2 separate regions of the Homo sapiens genome follow, and region 2 is linked to region 1. The links are contacts of gene promoters, found by promoter capture Hi-C in blood cells and fetal thymus (Javierre and others, 2016). All regions are on one chromosome and are shown on one strand. The core of a region is centred on a gene start or on the middle of the fragment in contact, and the rest is flanking DNA. Distances in the headings are between cores, read along the strand shown. Region 1 holds the start of TBC1D1 (TBC1 domain family member 1). Region 2 has its middle 49 kb from the start of TLR10.

Region 1 (5,830 bases), core at 3,023-5,522:
GGGTGGGAAATGGGCGAGTGTCCTAGCTGGCCCTCAGAGATTATGTATAACCCTCCTACCTGCAGTGTTCCTTTAAGTTATTCTGCTAAAAGTAAAAAGAATAGTTACCAACACATTATCATAGTGTGTTTATTAACTGATTTAACTTACAAAACGTTGGACAATAAAGGAATATTATCATTGAATAGTGGCACAGAAAAGTGAGGTCACCTGCCCAAGGCCATACTATAAGAAGTGGCAGAATCGGGATTTGAACCCAGGCCCTTTGGCTCCAGAGTTTGCTTGCTCTTAACCACTTTGCTAGAGCAATATCTGTTGACCACCTACCACTTCATGGACATTTTACATTCATGATCTTCTGTACGTTCACAAAGCTGAGAAGTAGGTTTTGTCATGCTCATTTTACCAAAGGGTTCCCTCACTAATAAATTGTGAAGGTGGCATTTGAATCTATATCTGTCTTATCTACAAACTTCTGTTGTTTCTCACAGATGATATCCAAAGATCCCATAGATCTTTAGATGGGAATAACCCTCAAATATCTTTCTAGTGGATTAGCTGGGTTGGTCTATCTAAATTTTGCTTGGCCTCAGCAATCCAAACCTAACATCAAAATTATACTCTAAAAGTATAAAATAAATAAACATAATAATAGCAATAAATAATATTGAGTGCTCACTGTGTACCAGGCACTGTTCTAAGCACTTTGCATGTATAAATTCACTAATTCTGGCAACAAACCTATAGGGCTTACCTAATTCAGAGGTTTAGATTTGCTGATTATATAAAATGTGCTGATAAATACACGCATTGTCTTTTGAAGAGAAAAATAGCTGTTGCTCATCTCAAAGGAGACAGGCACACTCAAAATTAAATGCCTCTTTGTTGGTTCTAAAATGTATTTCCTACATTCTGCACAGCTTCATAAAAACCTACATATCAAGAGTTTTTCAGTTGGCCCAAATATGACACATCTTTTTCTAAACATCTGAAATCTGAAAAGGGACACATTGCCCCTGCATCTAAGACCTCATCAAATGGAACTTTTGGCTTAGAAATGTCAAAAACTGGTCGGGCGCCGTGGCTCACACCTGTAATCCCAGCACTTTGGGAGGCCAAGGCGGGTGGATCACAAGGTCGGGAGTTCAAGACCAGCCTGGCCAAGATGGTGAAACCTCGCCTCTACTAAAAACACAAAATTTAGCCGGCCGTGGTAGAGCACGCCTGTAGTCCCAGCTACTTGGGAGGCTGAGGCAGGAGAATCACTTGAACCCAGGAGGCGGAGGTTGCAGTGAGCTGAGATCACGCCACTGCACTCCAGCCTGGGTGACACAGCAAGACTCCTTTCAAAAAAAAAAAAAAAAGTCAAAAACCTTGAAGCATGAAAACCTTCATGTCTTTCGTGAAGAATCTGGTCTAAAGATATTTTTTATTGGAATGTGGTGTTGGAAAGGAAGAAAAGTCAGTGAAGGAAATTGTAAGGTAACAGTTCTGACTGAAAACCTAAATCCTTCGTCATCACTACAGGGATACAAACCCCAACACTACTCTGCTGCTGAATGGACTCAGTGGCACGATCATGTTTCACTGCAACCTCCGCCTCCTGGCTTCAAGCGATTCTCCTGTCTCAGCCTCCCAAATAGCTGGGACTACAGGCACATGCCACCATGCCTGGCTAGTTTTTGTAGATCTATATTTTTGTAGAGACAGGGTTTTGCCATGCTGGCCAGGCTGGTCTCGAACTCCTGACCTCAAGTGATCCACCCGCCTTGGACTCCCAAAGTGCTGGGATTACAGGCATGAGCCACCATGCCTGGCCATGGACTCAGTCATTTTAATGAGCAGATTTTACTTCTCAAGTTTAATGACCAAGAGATGAAAACTGCTGAGAAATATATAAAATATTGAAACTAACGTGGTCATTAAACTTGAGAAGGGCAGCACGGTAGACTGGAAAAGGGCAAAACAAATGATCCTGAGGCACCCACACATATACAGGAAGTCCCCAAATGGGCCGTGATACATTTTCAGTCCTCTGGGAATCTGAAAAGAGCAAAAACTGGGGACCTACAGAGAAATGCTGTGGAGAGAGTAGGAAGGACTTCAGGGAGCTGCCATTCTGTCAGATCAAATTAAAAGCATGTTCAAAGACAGAATCCTCTTGAGCCCCTTGCTCTCCTCCCTACCATCTACTCTAGAAAGCTGGTGGCCAACAGAGCAGGCAGCTGTGGTGCCTGCTCCAGGCACCAAGACAACTGAAGATGCTGCTGTGAACACAGAAGAGGTAACAGCCATGCTGCTTGATTCAGGCTCCCCACTGCTTGCCAGGGTTACATCCTAGAAGATCCTAGAAGATCTGGACCACAAAAAAGCCACCCGCCCACATCTGGCTCTGCATAGGGGTACATCTCATTGTCATTGCAGCCTTCCTGGTCAAAGCTGTCTTCTAGGGAAGTGGGGGACAGGGATTATCACCAGCTGGATAATGAGGAAGAAGGGGCAAGCTCTGTTGCTTCAGAGTTGCACGTTTCCTCCTAATACCCACTAGTGTTTTGACAAACTGTGCCTTATGGGACACCAGGTCAACACTGCATGACTGCCACCCAACCAGAAATGCTGTCGTGGTGAAAAGGGGAAGCCCCAGCACTCTCAGTGGGGTAGATAACAATAGACTATGACAAGGAGACGCATTTGCAAAATTTTCCTTTGAAAACGTAATGTAATAATTTATAACTACACTAGTGATTTTTTTTCCTATTCTCCTGGTTTGCAAATGGCTGGACAAATCCACAGGAAAGAAATTATTTTAATTATCACCTGATGATTTTATTTCCTGCTTTGAACCACTTAGTCCCTTCCAGGTCTCCTTGCACTCAATAGTGTTAGAATGCTCTACTTGTGTTCACTTCAGAAAATGTCCCCTAAACTCTTTTTTTTTAAGAGATGGGATCTCACTTTGTCACCCAGGCTCCAGTGAGGTGGCACAGTCATAGCTCACTATGGCCTCGAACTCCTGGGCTCAAGTGATCCTCCTGCCTCAGCCTCCCAAGTAGCTGGGACTACAGGTGGGTGCCACCACCCCTAGCTCATTGAAAAAGTTTAGAAGTTTGAACTTGTACAGATAGCTGAGTTTCTTGGGTGTGACCTATTTAAACCAGGTCATTTTTAAATGCTCTTTCAAAGTCTGATTTTATTAATAAATGAAATCATCCCATCATAAGGGAAACAATGAGAAATCTATGAAGGGAAAACATATCCATTAATATGAGGCACCCTGAAAATTAAACTGTTTGGTGGAAGGAACAACCATCACTTTCAATTTCTTTTTAAAGCAACTTCCAGAGAATAAGCTATGTTAAGTAAAATCAAAACAGGAAAAGCCACATCTAGGTGGATTTCAAACGAAATGATACCTCTCTGAAAAAAAAGCAAAAACAAAACCTTAATGCCTGGTGAAGTTTGAGGGGGGTCTCATAATCACAGAGCCATCAGGAAGCGGCTAGAAACAATGAAGCAGGGTTTCAAAATGACTGGTACAGGATGTACCCATAGAAAGAAATGTTGCGCGCACTGGTGGAGCTGCCAAAGTTACTACTGCAAAGTACCCTGAACTTTTAAAGCGTGGCTTGGGGTCACTCTGACCACACTCTTTCCAATCTGGTCGCCTTGCAAACACGCTAGGATAATTGGCGGGAGGGGGGAGGGGAGAGATGCGCGGACCAGTGAGCTGGCGGGGGTTGGGGGAGAAGCCGGCGGAGCTCTCGGGTCGCTAGCAACATTAAGGTTTCGCTTTCGTCCAAGGGCGGCGGGGGTGGGGGGGTAAGGGGGGCAACGAGATGGCAATGAACTTCCTCCCCCGAGAGACCCTGGCCTCGCGTCCGTGGGCGGCCAGATGCCTTCCCCTCCGCGGCCAGGCGGGGCAGGGGCGTGCTGCGGGAGGGGGCGGCCGCGACGCCCCGAGAGGAGCCAGCAGGGTGGCCAGGACGAAGCCCCAGGAAGCGCCTTACCTGTGCCGCGGCGCGCTCAGAGCCCGGGGCCGGGCCGGGACGCGCAGGTGCTTGGGGGCATCCTGGGGACGGCCTGGGCGGGCGGGGAGTCCATCGCACCCGGCTGGCTGCGCTCTTCCCGCCGCGGGGGGACGGGGAGGGGGCTCCCCTCGGCTCGGCGCCCGCCTCTTCTCCACCCAGCTGAGGACACAGCAGGTCCCGCGGCGGCGGCAGCAACAGGCACCGGCGGACGGTGGCGGCACCAGGAGCAGCAGCCGAAGAGGAGGAGGAGGAGGAGGAGGAAGAAGAGGAGGAGAAGGAGGAGGTGTCTGCGCGCGGCTCTGGTTTCCTCCTCCCAGCCTGGGCGAGCGCGCTGGAGGCGAGGGGAAGACAGGAGCCGGGATCTCCCCACTCGGTCCCCGGGGAGCTGGGAGGGGGACTCGGTGTCCTCCTCCTCCCCACTGCGCCGTGTGACTGTGCCTGGGCAGCACGGCCCGGACGGGCGAGTCACACGCGAGCAACAGCTGCTGCACTGCGGGTCCGCCGCGGCCTCCCTCCCCTCCTTGCCACCCCCCGCCCCCAAGCCCGCGGGCCATCCTCAGCCAGTGTCTGTGGGGGGAATAGGGGGGAAGTACTCGGGCCGCCGCCCCATCCAGACCCCTGCGCAGGATCTGGGCACAGCGTTTCCCTGGGGAGCCGGGGGCGCGGGGCCCCGCGCGTGATGCAGGCCCTCGTGGCGGGATGTACAGTCGCACACCCTGTCCTTGGCGGCCTATTTATAGCAGGTGGCACTGCCCGCCGCTTGCTCGGCCTGAGTGGCTCTCAGCAGGTGGCACTGCCTGCCCGCTCTCCGCGCTCCCGAAGGCGCCTCGCCTCATCTGCACCCTCCTCTTCTCCCTCCGAAACAGACGTGGTGGAAACTGCACACAACATGGGGGGCGGGGGCCGGGGGCGACCAAGCCACCTTGCTCTCCCCCGCCTTACCCCTTCTCCCCGTCCTTGGAGGATGGCAAGAGGTGAACTGAGGCACGGATGCCCTATGGGGCGCTGGCATGCGAGGCAGGAAAATCAGGGACTCTGGGAAACAACGAAGGCGAAGTGCCCTCCCGGGATTAAACACCAGGAAACTCCATTTCTAACCAATTGCGGGAGTGACGCAGAGCCTGGATTAGGCGCTTTTTCCTGCCCCGCGAGCCCGGCACACGCGCAGGAACACACACCACACGCACACGCACACCCCAGTGTGCATGCCCCGATCAGGTCTGGGGACATTCCCAGCGGTGATGTAGAGTGCAAGGAAAGACGCGGAGATGTGAAAAGCGGGACAGAGCTCGCTCCCTAAGACTAGGGGATGGCAGTGTGCAAAAAACAGGCGAAGCTCCCAGATCCCTATCCCACCAGGCACAGAGGCGCAACGTCACTCGCAGGGTGGGGAGAGGGATCTGAGAAAAGTAAGAAGCATCACATCCTCTCCAGAGAAGAGTCCGCAGGGAGGGGAGAGCCGGGTGCTCGGAGGAGGCAGTTCCAGACCCCCAGGTGGCATCTTTCTGGATTTTTTTACTTAATGTAGCTGGGGGTGGACTTTAGGGAAGTGGCTGAGCGTTTGAGCTGTACGGTTGGACTTGAATCCAAATCCCAGCAGGTGTGGTTTAGGCAAGGTGCTGGACCTCTGGTCTTCATTGTCTTACCTGCTAAATGGGACCAATACACACCTTACAGGATCTTTGTGAGGACAAAGCAGGAAAGTGTAAGTAAAGTGGCCAGTGCAGTGACACAGACGTACATGGTCCTCAACTAAAAGCAGCAGCTATTATCAATATTACTGTGGCCCAGGAGGCAAATAG
Region 2 (5,872 bases), core at 414-2,913, 840 kb before region 1:
TCCAGAGAACTTACAAAGACAAATACCTACTGCTTTTCATCCCAGTCTCTGCCTTCATCTTCACGTGTCATTGTCCATTTCCCTGATGATGTCTCGTCACATCATCTTCCCTCTGTGTGTGCGTGTCTTTGTGTCTGAATTTCTCTCTTTCATAAGTCACACCAGATTAAGCCTACCATAATGACTTCGTTTCAACATGATGACCTCTGTAATGGACCTATTTCCAAAGAAGGTCACATTCTGAGTTACTGGGAATTAGAATTTCAATGTATCATTGGGGGGGACTCCCAGTGTGCAAGAGGGTTTGTGTGTGTGAGAGAGAGAGAAAGAGAGAGACAGAGAGAGAATACACGTGAGCAGAGCTAACACTGGACAAAAGCATTGTGGGAGTTGATATGGATTTGTTGTTGAAGCCCATTTACCTGCTAGAATCTCTTGGTGTCTGGCATGTTGGATGTGTTAACTCATAAATCTTAGGATTGCAAGTGACTCAACTTGAACTAGATTAAGCAAAGAGGGAATATATTGAGTTATATAATCAAACCATAGAAATGGCAGGGGTGGCTGGGTGCGGTGGCTCCTGCCTGTAATCCCAGCACTGTGGGAGGCTGAGGTGGGTGGGTCACTTGAGGTCAGGAGTTCGAGACCAGCCTGGCCAACATGGGAAATCCCATTTCTATTAAAAGTACAAAAATTAGCTGGACTTGGTGGTGCATACTTGTAGTCCCAGCTACTCAGGAGGCTGAGGCAGGATAATCGCTTGAACCCCAGAGGTGGAGGTTTCAGTGAACCGAGATTGCGTCACTGCACTCTAGCCTGGGCACAGAGTGAGACTCTGTCCAAAAAAAAAAAAAAAAAAAAGCAAAGGAGGAGTAGCCTAGCCTTAAAGAGCCAGGGACTTGAACACTGTCATTGCTGTCATTTCTCTCTTTCTTTCTCAGCTCTTTTCTACATGCTGCCTTCTTTCTTCTGGCTTTCTCCATTGAGGGTGCAGGCATGATGTCAGACCACTCCTCACTTCCATCCTTGCAGCCCTATAACCAGACAATTAGGAGCAAAGCGTTCTTGATTGGTTAGGGAAGCATGCCAATAGGCTCTTCTAGGATCACGTGACCTTCCCTAAACTGATCCCTGAATGCCCACCCTTAAACCTGAGTCATATGCTTACCTCTAGCTAGGGGTCTAAGAATACTAGGATTGGCATTATTGAAGCTCGAGAGGAACAGTTCCCCAAAGAAGGGGATACAATAAACAAGGCTTTAGGCATGTGTGCAGCCCAAGATAGAGCTTCAAATTTTGACTTCCTCCAAGCTTACCTACAGGGCTATTATACCCTAGTGGAGGGCTGAGCTGGGCTTTTGCTGTCCTGGAATCTCACTGCTGTCCCCAGTTGTTGGGTATGGGTTGTGGTGGAGATTGCCTATCTTCACCAAACTCATTGCCTCCTTTCTCCTGGCACAGAGCTGCACTGTATTTTGCAGGCTCTGTTGAAGTTACATCGCTGGTAAGCACTGGCCAAGTAATTGAGTTACAGCCAAAGGGTGATTAGAAGTGACGTGTGCCACCTCTACATCTGATCCACAAAACCTCCCATTCCCCCAGGCTCTTCCCTGCTGCCAGTTCGAAGCAGATGGGTGTGGCAGCTTGAAGTCACATGTGAAGTTGATGGTACCACAGGATGGAGGGAGCACAGGTTCCTGAATCTCTTCTTGGAGAAGGCCCATCTGCTCACCAGGAATCCCATTTGAGACTCTACATGAGAAATACACGTCTATTATTGGAGCAATTACAAATTTCAGAGTTTGCTACAGCAGTGAGTGTTTCTCTAACCAACAGAATTTCTTCCCTTTTTCATCAATCCTGCTTTCCCAAGTAGCCACAGGGGATACTGGAGCCAACAGAGCTGGTTTGAATCCTGACTCTGTACTTACTAGCCAGCCACTCCGCATCTTTGGGTGCAGCCTTCTTCTTTATAGAATAATCATGCCTACTTCATAAGGCCAAAGTAAGCTTTGAACACTAGAGGGAAGATGCATGCTGTCATCACAGAGTAGGTGTTGACCGTATTGTGTTTTTCAACTACCACAGGGTGACTTCATCCAAAATAACTTCCCATCTGGCTAGGGCTGCCTTGGAGAAATATCTTCTCAGCTAGGAGGTTCTTCAGTCTCAAGAGGCTTCCTGAATCAGAATGCTTTATGTCCTTGGGCTATGATAAAGTGCCATTGCTGCTGATCCATCATTCTACCAGGAGGCAAACCCCAGCAGATGGTAAATCCCCAGTTCTTGCTCTTGCTCTCTGGAGCTCCTCAGGTAGGAATAATTCCCAGTTCCAGGCTTGCAGACCTCTGACTCTTTTTTATTTATTTACTCACTTATTCATTTTTTCATTCATTCATGCATGTGTCCACCTGTCTGCTTATCCATTCATCCATGCAACAAGTATTTACAGTGTGCCAACTTCGTGCCAGGCAATGTATTGAGAACTAGAGATGCAGAAGTGAAAAGGAAAAGCTTTACTCACTCTCATCGAGCTTCCTTTATACTGAGAGGTCAGACAAGAGAGCGACAGACACTATGGTAGGAGTGAGTGCTACAGGGTGCTATGGAGGCTCAGAGAGGGCACTTAGTCTAGGGCTCGGAAGAGGCGTGCCACAAGTAGTGATGCCAAGCACAAGTTTTTCCTGGCAAAAGAATGGCAAAGCTGGTTCTACCACAACCACCAGCTACTCTTGAAATCAACTTTTTGGGATCTTCTACTAGCCTGCTGCATCATGTAGATATACCACCACCACCACCACATCTACCACCATCACCATCACCACTACCTCTACCACCACCACCACCTCTACTACCACCGCCACCACTGCCATCACCGCCACCACCACCACGATTACCAGCACCACCACCTCCACCACCATCACCACCACCTCTACCACCACCATCACCACTGCCACCACCACCATCACCACCAGCTCCACCACCACCACCAGGCCACCATCACCACCACCACCAGCACTACCATCATCACCATCACTACCACTGCCACCACCACCATCACCACTACCATCACCACTACCACCACAACTACCATGATCACCACTACCACCACCACCATCATCACCATTACCACCAGGACCATCACCACTGCCACCACCAATACCATCACCACTACCAACAACACCACCAGCACCATCACTATCACCACCACTACCACCATCACCACCTCCATTACCACCACAACCACCATGGTCACCACCACCACCATCATTATCACCATCACCACCAACACCATCACCACCACCAACACCACTACCACCACCATTGCCACCAACAACAACATCATCAACACCACCAACACCACCAACACCATCACCGCTACCACCACAACCACCAGGATCACCACTACCACCACCACCATCATCACCATCACCACCAGGACCATCACCACTACCACCATCAACACCATCACCACCACCACCATCAACACCATCACCACCACGACCAGCACCATCACTATCACCACCACTGCCACCATCACCACCTCCACTACCACCAAAACCACCACGATGACCACCACCACCATCATCACCATCACCACCAACACCATCACCATCACCATCACCAACACCAACACCAACACCAACACCACCACCACCACCATCACCACCACCACCATCACCACCTCTGCTACCAACACAACCACAATGATCGCCACCTCCACCACCATCATCGCCATCACCACCAACACCATCACTACCACTAACACCACCACCACCAACACTACCACCACCAACACTACCACCATCACCACCTCCACTACCACCCCAACAACCATGATCATCACCACCACCACCATCACCACCACCGCCACCACTGCCTCCACCACCATCACCACTACCACCAGTACCACCACCATCACCACTAACACCACAGCCTCCACCACCATCACCACCAACACCACCATCCCACCATTACCACCACCATCATCACCACCACCATCACCATCACCACCACCATCACCATCATCAACACCACTACCACCACCACCACCATCACCTCCCTTTCTGAGCTGTGCCCTGCTGAACTTCCAAATTTCTTGAGAATATCGTCCCCTGGGGAACCCTATGGCTATTTTTACTTCTTCCATGTGTGCCTTCCTCCCCACAACCACCAGTGTTCCACTCAAAGGGGCATAAACATCTATAAGGCATTCTGTATGTATGTGTTTATATAGTCTTTTTTTTTTTTTGACAGAGTCTTGTTCTGTCATTCAGTCTGGAGTGCAGTGGTGCAATCTTGGCTCACTGCAACCTCTGCTTCCCAGGTTCAAGCAATTCTTGTGCCTCAGCCTCCCAAATAGCTGAGACTCCAAGTGCCCGCCACCATATACGGCTAATTTTTTTGTGTTTTTAGTAGAGATGGGGTTTCCCCATGTTGGCCAGGCTGGTCTCAAGCTCCTGATCTCAAGTGATCCGCCTGCGTCAGCCTCCCAAAGTGCTGAGATTACAGATGTGAGCCACCAATCTGGCCTATATAGTCTTAAACATGCTCACAATATATATGTTTATGTATCTTTGTAAGCATATGCCTAATGCCTAAAATGGAATATGGATGTATACATGTTTGCACAAATACACATATGTGTGTATATACATAAGGCATATGCATACACGTGAAGAGACATATATATAATCTTCAAATTTTCAAGAAAACAAATTGTTAAATTGAGGGTACTACCTCAGAAACCAAACTTTATTAAATTTTCCCAAAAGCAGAAATAAAAGGCAGTCTATAGATTATTTTGCTATCAGAGACAACCAACAAGCCCAACAACTTTGGAAGTGCCTGGCTGATATGAAAGTTATTCTTTTTTCTTTTTCTTTTTAATTAAAAATTAATTAATTAATTAATTAATTAATTAATTAGAGACAGTGTTTCACTCTGTTGCCCAAGCTGCAGTGCAGTGGTGCAATCACAGCTCACTGTAGCTGCAAACTCATGGGTTCAAATGATCTTCATACCTCAGCCTCTCAAGTAGCGGGGACCACAGGCATGTGTCAATTTTTAAATTTTTTTGTAGAGGGGGAGTCTTGCTAGGTTGCCTAGGCTGGTCTCAAACTTCTGGCCTCAAGTGATCTCCCACCTTAGCTTCCCAAAGTGCCAGGATTACGGGCATGGCCACTGTGCTTGGCTTACCTTTTTTCTTTGAAGAAGATGTTTTTATTGGAATAGAGTTAGCAGTTTCTTCCCTCCTCTTAGTATCTAGAATAATGAGCCTAGTGCGGTGGCTCATGCCTGTAATCCTGGCTCTGGGATTGTTAGAATTTCTGATGCCCGTGAAAGTGACCCTTAGGGTTGAGAGAGAGGAGAAAAGCTTTCTCTTAGATTTTATTAATAACCAAGAGAATTATGATGATGATATTAATAATAGCAATAATTAATATATAATTAACACATAACACTCCCTATGTGCCAGGCACCATTCTAAGTGTTTTGACATTTGCTTTGTTTGTGCCTCAGTGTTTGAGATGTTATCTCGTTTATGTCTCATAAGTACTCTCTGAGGTAGGCTCTAATATGATCATCCCAACTTTACAGATGAGGAAGGTGAGGCACAGAGAGGTTTAATGACCTGCCAAAAGTTACAGAGCAGTTGCAGAAGCAGGATTCGAACCCCGGCAATCTGGCTCTAGATTGCCACATTACCCTTAGCAGTCCTGCTCTCACGCAAGGCCGCCCTGGAAGGACAGGAAGAAGAACCCTCTGAGCCGCGAGAAGGTGCTCCGAGAACCCTCAAGAGGACCCCGGCCCTGAACTAGAAGCTCCGCGTGCCTGGGCCTCCCTCTCCAGCAGGGGGCGCACACAGCCC

Evidence for each region. The method cuts DNA at HindIII sites, captures the fragments that hold promoters and counts their contacts. A CHiCAGO score of 5 or more calls a contact.
Region 2: a fragment that was not itself captured here is called in contact with the fragment with the promoter of TBC1D1 in region 1 in 1 of 17 cell types (M2 macrophages); the score reaches 5.8 in M2 macrophages.

Annotation. Positions count from the first base shown.
Region 1 is chr4:37,889,526-37,895,355 of GRCh38, reverse strand. It overlaps TBC1D1 (TBC1 domain family member 1), which reads right to left and starts at 4,272. Exons shown (of 22, transcript NM_001396959.1): 1 at 4,008-4,272. RefSeq lists enhancers at 2,125-2,404, 2,835-2,964 and silencers at 2,665-2,714, 3,744-4,243, 4,564-4,753. The HindIII fragment of the contact is 15,185 bases long and covers 1-5,830 here.
Region 2 is chr4:38,731,296-38,737,167 of GRCh38, reverse strand. No RefSeq gene overlaps it. Among named protein-coding and RNA genes, the nearest start is that of TLR10, 49 kb to the left of the region's middle. The HindIII fragment of the contact is 699 bases long and covers 1,314-2,012 here.